Regions from separate parts of the Homo sapiens genome. Here region 1 is linked to region 2. The links are contacts of gene promoters, found by promoter capture Hi-C in blood cells and fetal thymus (Javierre and others, 2016). All regions are on one chromosome and are shown on one strand. The core of a region is centred on a gene start or on the middle of the fragment in contact, and the rest is flanking DNA. Distances in the headings are between cores, read along the strand shown. Region 1 has its middle 3.3 kb from the start of ZBTB14. Region 2 holds the start of LPIN2 (lipin 2).

Region 1 (4,795 bases), core at 1,471-3,970, 2.3 Mb after region 2:
ATTGAGTTTGTGGGGGAGTGGACGGTGCACAATAAACACTTGCAGAACAAATGGAAAAAGCGACGTCTTCGATTTGTAGTGTAAAGCGCAACCCCAGTTGCCCAGCAGAAAGGGATCACCCATAGGGCTTCGGAGCTAGTAGGTCCGCGCCCGGACACTCCAAGGAAAAGTCCAGGGGCTGGAGGCGGCGACCCGTCTGTGGCAGTCCAGACCCTGGACTCGATTCGGAGAGCTCTGATAACTTGGCTCTGTCCTTAACATCCCTGCTCAGCGCCAGTAATGGCTCCGTTGCTGTTGAACCACGTCGCCTTCCCTCTGACGCGGCGGCTGTGCCTGTGTCTGGCGTCGGGAGCTGGGAAGTCCCTCCCGCTCCCGCGTTTTCTGCTCACCGAGATGCAGGAGGCCGGACAGCAATGCCGCGCCGCCTTAGAGTCGCTCATGTTGCTTTACCTCACACGCGAAGTTTCCCCGAAACGCGTAATTTAATATCTAAAGATTAGAGCAGAAGCTTCCTCTTGGGCTTATTGAAGATGACATAAGATAGTGCTTGCAACAGGCACCTAAGTAAACATTTGGGAAATAATATGATGATTGGATGTGTTAATTTTCTAAAGGAAGTTCTATATGGCCTCAGTTGATTTTGTAATGTTAATTGACTTTGGTTTAACGTTCCCCAAGGCGACTTTATACGCATCTTTTTTGATGTTCACAAAAGCACCCAAGTTACGGCTTATATGGAGGAAATAGGATGGAAGAGACCGGTTGTAGAGTCAGACATATCCAGTTCACATATTGGGTAAATTGTTTAACTTCTCTAAACCTCAGCTGAAGGAGAGCTATGGAAAGCACCTAATAAGGCACTTGTAAGGATTAAGTGAAATAATGCCCAGCTAAGGTATTAGCTCCATGATGGAAAATCACCTGCACCCACAGATAGTGGGTTCCAGTGGCCTGGACAGAACCAGAACCAAGTCTTCTGCCACGAAAGTTCACACTCATCAGACATGATACCGTGTACTCGCTTTATTCTTGTTTGCGTAGCTCTTGAAGTTGCATTTCAATCCTGTGGATGCTGTGTGTTTATAGGGGGATAATAATAGTACTCTGTCATAGGGTTGCGTCACCAAGCAGTAAAGCAGCCACTGCAGTTAGCACAATGTGTGGACACGGCCAGTACTCAAGTCATGGCGCATCTGCTGCTGGCGCTCCCCCTTCTCCCATACCACATATGGGGTTTCCCACTCATTCTGCGTGTATTTTTGGTCTGCCTACTGTGTAAAGACAATCTTTTCGCATATGGCTAGGAAAAGACTTCCCACGTTTCCACTAACCCGATAACATAATTCACAAGAGTTCTAAAGCACTAGAATGCATTTCTCAAGTGACGGTTCCTGACATCCTGGTTTTGTATCAATGAATCCTCTTGTCTCATTTGTTTTATGTTCATGTCACCTGGGCTCTGCCTGGCTGTCCCTTGCTGGTTCACAGGGGTTGTGGGGATGAGTCTAAATTAAAGGGACAACTCTGTGGGAAGGTGGAGGGATGGGAAACCACAAAGGAAAGGCCTGACCCAAGCCTGGCTTCTCGCCTGTGTCGCCACCCAAAAGTGCACTTCCCAGCACCCAAGAGGCTTTCAATAAACATCAGCGGACAGTAAGTGACAACCTTGAATTTGATACTAAGGGGCTTTGTAAAAGTACACTGTGGCGTCAACGCGGGGGCAGGGCTTTCCTGAAATGCACTGACCCAAGGTCCTTGACAAAGTTTTCCTCCTTTTCCGACAACTCTGATGGGTGACATTTGGAGCACGTTGTTCCTCACTTGGGACACCCATGGCCTCCTGAGTGGAACCTGTTTCTAAGAATTGTGAGGCCCAGGCCATGGGGCCCGCAGTGTGCAGTCCCGGGTGCCAGGGTCTGATGTGGTTACAGAGCAGCCCAGTAAGGGACCGTTTGGAAACATTATGTCTCACAGGCGGGGGAGGTTGATTTCTCCCTCATGTTGACCTTGGGCCCTCTGGCTGGTTTTGAAACAGCAGGATACCAGCAGATGAGAGTGGGCCGGGTCTGAGTAGAGGTTTTGAGAGCAGCCTTTGTTCTGCGCCTCCTCCTCTGCTGTGACGTCCAGCACAACACGACCATGGTTAGGCCACAACCCCCTCTTCAGCTTGGGCCCTTGAATGACAAACAGACCTGAGAATGAAGCCAACCCAAAACCTGAGCACAGCCAAGCCTAGAGAGAAGACAACTCACCCACAGACCTATGACTGAGAAGTAAATGTTTGTTTTATAAGCCACTGGGAGGTTGGGTTTTATGCTTTGTTACTGAACAAAATCTAATACATCTGTGCAAGGAAAAGTGTCACACCCAATGCCATAACCACCTTCCCCCTGTGACTCTGAGAACACTTGATACAGCAAATGAACAAAAACCCGATCCAATCCGTGTCATCATGGAGATACTGATGTGCACATTCAACAAATAATCACATCGTTACACAATTGCACATTGCAATAAGTGTTTTTATAGAAAGTTAAAAAACACAGAATGTGATGAAAAAGAGGAACAGGAGGAATTAATTTTGCCTGGGAAATCAGTGAAAGCTTCTTCAAAGGCATACATTTAAGACCTGAAAGATGAGGGAGAGATTCGCAAAGAGGGGGAAGAAATAGCATTTCAAGACAGAGACAGGAACAAAGTGAATGCAAGGGTGGAAGGAGCTTGAAGTACCTCAGTCTCTGCAAAAGTGGACATGAGATGTGTTTGTGAGAACAACAGTGTCCAGCACCTGTAGGGCCTTGTGGTTTATAGGAAGGGGTCTTCACAATGACAGCCCCGAAAGCTTGGGCCATTTAGGTGGAGGGGTTGAATCAAAGGAAGGTCCTGAACATCTGCCAGGGCAAGGAACATCAGGACAAGCTTGTCTTGTGCTTGTGGAGGAATTGCTGCATGAGGATGGAGTTGGCCATGTGGAACGATCATTCTCCTATGGATCAGAACTGGTGGGGCATCTGGTCGTCTCTGGGCACCAGACACTTGTTTCTTCTTCCTCTGGAACCTGGTCATTTAGATTTCCTCATTGCCTTTTGGGTTAACATCGAGGAAACTGGGTGAAGAGTTTCTGGAAACACTCTGTGTTATCTTGACAACTCTTCCATAAATCCAATATTATTGTAAAACGAAAATTATTCCTGTTCATGTAATTATTTTTTCCTAGATACTTTCAAGATTTTTTTCTTTGTCTTTAGTTTTCAGCATTTTGATTATGGTGTTTTCTGAGTAGGGATTTCATTGCTTATACTGTTTGGGGATTGCCGAGCTTCTTAAATACATAGGTTTATTTATATCTTTCTCTAAATTTGGGAAGCTTTCAGCTATTATTTTTTTCACATTTTTTTTCAACAGCATACTATTTCTCCTTTGTTGAGATTCCAATGACAGGAACGTTGAGTTTTTTAAAAATTATGTCATAGGACCATAAGTCTTTTCATTTTTTAAAATATTTTCTCTGTGTTGTTCAGATGAAATAGTCTCTATTGATTCTCTACAATTCACTGACTTGTTCTTTTGTCGTTTCCACCCTGCCATTTAGCCTGTCCAGTGAGTTTTTTTGTTTCACTTGTATTTTTCAGTTTTAAATTTTTTCATTGTATTTTTCTTTATATCTTCTATTTCTTTGCTAAGACTTCCTATTTTTCGATTTAAGAGTGTTCATAATTGCTTGTTGGAGAATTTATAATAGTTGCCTCTAAGTCTTTTTACTTAATTCCAACATCATTGTCATCTCAATGTTGCCATCTGTTGATTGTTTTTTCATACGTGAGTTGAGATTTCCTGGGTCTTTGTATGCTGAATTATTTTGGATTGCATCTTGAACATTTTAAATATTATGTTATAATACCCTGGGTCTTGTTTAAATCCTGTGGCAAATGTTGATATTTTAATTTTAATAGACAATCGGGTTACGTTCTGGTGACCAGTTTTAACACACTTTCTGTGTGCTGTGGTTTGATGGTTTCGGACTGCTACTTGGATCTGTTTCATATGCTCCAGGCATTGGCCAGTCTAGGATCTGATGATCTGTTAGTTCAATTCTCAAAGTCTTTTATGTGCTGACTAGGCTCAGACCCAGCATGTGCAGCTCAAGGGGGAGCTTAGAGGTTCATAAACAACTTTAGGGGCTCACTTTCCTGGGCTCATTCCTCTTCTGATTTCCCTGGTACTTTCTACCTTCCTGGAACTCCCTTTTCTGATCCTACATCCAGAAAGTTGGGGCACTTCCATGGCTACACTCTAATCTACAGCCAAGTGGCAGAAGAACGAGAAGGAAAAAAAATGGTAAATTCCCTGCTGGCTTGGTGATAAGCTTTCTTGTTTCCTGACATGTTGATTTTAAAGAGCTGTAAATTTCCTTCTAAGGACTGCTTTCTCCTTTTCAACGTATTTTTTTCATGTTATTTTATTTATATTCAGTTCTATGTATTTCTTTGGTTTCTTCATTACTTTTTAAATTCATGTTATTTAATAATGCTACTAACCCAAAATATTCCAATGTAATGTATGATTTTATGATATTGTTTCCAATTACATGGGAATATTTTTGAGTTATCTTTTTTTGGTAACTTCTTATTTTGGTATAATGCTAACTTACAGAAAATTTGCATGAATATAGTAAAAAAGAAGTCCTGTGTGCATTTTACTTTTATCCAGATTTACCAGTTGTAACATTTTGCCTTCATTTGCTTAATCATTTGTGCTCACACGTGCACACTGTCTCCAGACACACACACACACA
Region 2 (4,456 bases), core at 1,010-3,509:
CTCTAACACGTGGCACCACCAGGAATATTCATCCATGCCTCACCATTCAGGGAAGGTAAGTGAGCTCACTCAGGAAGTGCCACCGTCTTCCAGGTCACTGGTAAGGACAAACTGCCTGCTGCGTCTACCTTCATTCAACAGACCTCGACCGAATCGCATCCCAAAGCCGGCTATGTGCTTGGAACTTACTGAGCAGCTATGGAGTTTGGCTTTCAGGAACTCTGGGTCCAGTCCTTAAAACCAAAAGTGCAATACAGGGCGATGAGAACTTCTATTGCTACATTCTCCTAGCAATAAAGAAGACAAAGCCCCAGCTGACTCTATTATTTGCTTCTTAACAGTGCTTTACTATAGTATTAAAGGGTTTTCAAACACTTCATTTCCAGCTTCTCTTAAGCATAATGCGTGCCTATTGACTCTCGACTGTGCCATCAAACGTTAAAACAGAACCTGTCGTTTCATTTCTAGCTTTCTATGGCTACCTCTATCAAAAGTTGGGCATGGAGATACCTTAAGTCTGGCTGGGGCGGTTGCTCACGCCTGTAATCCCAGCTCTTTGGGAGGCCGAGGGGGGCGGATCACCTGAGGTCGGCAGTTCGAGACCAGCCTGGCCAACATGGTGAAACCCCCGGTCTCTAATAAAAATACAAAAATTAGCTGAGTGTGGTGGCTCATGCCTGTAATCCCAGCTACTCGGGAGGCTGGGGCACAAGAATCGCTTTAACAGAGGAGGCAGAGATTGCAGTGATCGGAGATCGCGCAACTACACTCCAGCCTGGGCGACAGAGTGAGACTCTGTCTCGAAATAAAAGAGATACTTCAGTCTGACATACCACAATCAACTACAATGTAATTGGAGGGAAGAGCCGATGTTGGACGGCTATCACACGTGGCTTCACACTGTTCTTTTTCTTCTCTGGCTGGGTACGGCCTGAGGATGACTGCCCTCCAACAACTGAGGATGCTGCAGGAGGACCAGCCCAGCACCTGTCTCCATCCCCTGCACTGTGTGGCCGGCTCTGCCGCTTCTCCCCCGCTTCAGCATCACCTGCCACTTCTTCTCAATCTGAAGCCACTAAGAACGATCAACACCAGACCGTTAAAACATAAACCAGTATGGGCCACTAAATAATTCGTAAATATTTCAAAATGTATTTCAAAACCGACTTTGTATTGTCAAAACATTATAATCTAGCCAGGCCAAGTTTTAATAAACAGTAACACCCATCATCACTACTGGGTAAAGAACTTCATTCAACAGGACCTACCTTGACACCAAGTCTAGAGCCTCGTTTTCAATTAAAAAAAAAATGGGTAAGCCCCAAATGTGCATTAAAAATTAGTTTGGCCATTTACTAAGTAGTCCTTCAAAGCATTTCCAAGTATTCAGAGTTCCAGTACTTTTCGGAAAGGAAGGGTGATCTTTCTGGTACTGGTTTGCATAATTATGCCTAAAAAATGTCATCTTGAATTTTCAATGAAAAGAGTCTTAAAATGTTCAGGCGAGTGGAGAAAATGGTGATCCGCTGGCGTTAGAAGTGGACAGAGAGGCTCTCAGTACAAACTGTATCTGAACGTGTTCCTCACAAATTAAGATCTGCACCGGGGGCTGGGGGGCTTTGAGAAAACTAACCACATTTGAATCCGGTCCACACAGCTTGAAGGCGGAGGTACGGGGCAAAGCGCGGCGGGGAAGAAACACCAGCAACTCGGCGGCCCCCGCCTCGCCGCAGATCACGTGCCCGGCGCCCCCTCCCGCAGGGCCGGGGGCGGGATGGAGACGCGGCCTCCCGCGCGCCTTCCGCACTCCCCTCCGCGCCCCAAACCCAGGGGTAGGGGTGGTCTCGGGTAACCATCCCCAGGGCGGCGGCGAGGGAACTGCGCGGGTTCAGAGTCCTCAGCAGCCACCACTGACGCCCCGACGCCCCCGGCTCCCCGCGCACCCCGCCGGTCCGTCCTGCGGCGGCGGCGGTAGGGGCCGCGTCTACGTGGCGCGGTCGCGGCGAGGCGGGGACTGGGACGCGAGGACCGGGAAGCGGGGACCGCGGCGCGAGGAGGGGCGGCTCAACCCGCGCCGCCCCGGAGGGTCCCGGCCTCCGGCAGGACAGCCCCGGGCCCGCGCCAAGGGAAGCCCCCAGGCGCAGACACTCACCGCCAGCCCCGGAGGGACGCCTGCGAGGAGCCCGGCCCGCGCCCACTTACCCACAGGGGCTCCGCTCCCGGCCAGCGGGCGGCTGAGGGCAGGCGGCGGCTGGACTGCGACGGCTAGGACCCGCCGGGGAGGGAAGCCGAGGGGGCGGGGCCGGTCGGGGGCGCGCGCGGGGTCGGAGCGCCCGCAGCCGCCGCTGCCTTGGAAGCCGCCTGGGCCGCAGCTGAGTCGGGCGGCCCTCATGAATGGGACGCCGCGGCTGCGGCGGCCGAGCCGGCAGCTGGCGGGCGGGCAGCGCGCAGGCCCCGCCCCAGCCACGTGACGCGCGCTCCCGGCCGCGCGCCGCGCCCCCGCCGCCGAGCGCCAGGCGTGCGGCTTCTCACCGCTCCCAGTCCCTGGGCTGCGCGCCCGGGCCCCTGGCCAAGTGAGGGCGGGGCCTCGATTTTCTAGTGCCTCGGGCGACAGGAGCCTTACTTTGTTTTAAAAAAAAAAAGTTTCTTCCGGTCCCCATGGCAACCCTGCGGCAGGTCACGTGGGACTGAGAGCCCAATTGCCAAAAAGGAATGTTAAAGTGCAAAAAAAGTCTAGGGAATGAATGTTTTATAATCCCCTTTTGATCACTAGTAGCACATCTCCTTTGCTTACTTACATCTCCACCGAAAAAAAAAAAATCCTATTACACAACTCATTTTTAAAAATATGCCGGGGTTCTGTTGTTTTTTGTTTATTCTTTTTATCGCTCTGTTACCCCGGCTGGTCTCCAACTCCTGGGCTCAAGCATCCCCGCACCTCGGCCTCCCAAAGTACTGGAATTACAGGCATGAGCCACCGTCCCCAGCATTAAAATATACTTTTTAAGAAATGGGTGGCTCACGCCTGTAATCCTAGCACTTTGGAAGGCCGAGGCAGGCGGATCACTTGAGGTCAGGAGTTCAAGACCAGCCTGGCCAACATGGTGAAACCCCCGTCTCTACTAAAAATACAAAAAACCAGCCGGGCGTGGTGGCGCGTGCCTGTAATCCCAGCTTCTCAGGAGGCTGAGGCAGGAGAATCAGTTGAACCCGGGAGGCGGAGATTGCAGTGAGCCGAGATGGCGCTATTGCACTCCAGCCTGGCGACAGAGAGACTCCGTCTCAGAAAGAAAAGAAATGGGGCCCGGCGCGGTGGCTCACGCCGGTAATCCCAGCACTTTGGGAGGCCAAGGCGGGTCGATCGCCTGAGGTCAGGAGTTGGAGACTAGCCTGGCCAACGTGGCAAAACCCCGCCTCTACTAAAAATACAAAAATTAGCCGGGCATGTTGGCTGCAATCCCAGCTACTTAGGAGGCAGAGGCGGTAGAATCACTTGAACCCGGGGGGCGGAGGTTGCAGTGAGCAGAGATTGCGCCACTTCACTCCAGCCTGGGAGCGAAACTCTGTCTCAAAAAAAAAAAAAACAAAAAAAACTGGATTGCTGGTGCTATATACTATTGGTGCACACTGGTTTTTAATTTGCAGCCTATTCTATTACTATTCTATGATTGAAAGTAATGAACAGAAGCCTATGTTACTTCTATATAAATGGCAGTTAATTTATGAGGTGCATCTTGTGTGTGATCATTTATACAGTTCTAAGGGTACTGAAATAGGCATTTGCATACACAAAGCTGCTCCTTGAAGGATCCAGCTGCAGCCCAGTTTCTTCCCACCAGTGCCTGGTGTAGCTGGGCAGTGCTTGGATTCAGGGAGCAGGCGACCACTTCTTCACTGAAGTTCCTTCTGCTTTTCTGTGAAACTCGATCAAGTTTTGCCCCATCTGTAATCAAGGCCCTACAGAAACATAGGTAGTTTCACTGGCACAAGACCACTAGGAATTTTCCTCATTTCACTGCTTCTCACTTGGCTTCACAAGTAAAATAAAAATTGAAGAGGACTAAAATATCCCCCTCCGTATTCAATGGATTTTATAAATATGGAGAAGAAAAATTAAAGCTAGAGAAAGAATTTAATCCTCAGTTTCTACGTCAGTAAAATAAAGATAGTAGTGTCTTTCTTACAGAATTGTTTTGTGGATTCCCCGTGATAACCTATAAAGTGCCTACGTTAGTGTCTGCAACCTGGAACAGGCTGTTAGCGTTTATTTTCTTTCCTTTCTTCCATTTCTCCCACTTAGACTTTTCCTGTTTCTCTCAGGCTATTTTCTCTATCTCTGCCTTGGGAGGGAAATATTCTGCCAAGCTCCCTTCCTTCCTTTCATCATTCAGGAAGCCCTAGAGCTCCCCTCCCTTCCTCCAAACAACCTTGCGTTTGAGACCTCACTCAGAACGAT

What was found. The method cuts DNA at HindIII sites, captures the fragments that hold promoters and counts their contacts. A CHiCAGO score of 5 or more calls a contact.
Region 1: a contact is called between a fragment that was not itself captured here and the fragment with the promoter of LPIN2 in region 2, in 1 of 17 cell types (total B cells). The highest score is 6.0, in total B cells.

What each region holds. Positions count from the first base shown.
Region 1 is chr18:5,296,623-5,301,417 of GRCh38, forward strand. It overlaps a transcript of ZBTB14 not described here. Among named protein-coding and RNA genes, the nearest start is that of ZBTB14, 3.3 kb to the left of the region's middle. RefSeq lists enhancers at 1-435, 153-312. The HindIII fragment of the contact is 239 bases long and covers 2,602-2,840 here.
Region 2 is chr18:3,010,885-3,015,340 of GRCh38, forward strand. LPIN2 (lipin 2) reads right to left here and starts at 2,260. Exons shown (of 20, transcript NM_001375808.2): 1 at 2,203-2,260. RefSeq lists a silencer at 1,701-2,650. The HindIII fragment of the contact is 8,581 bases long and covers 1-4,456 here.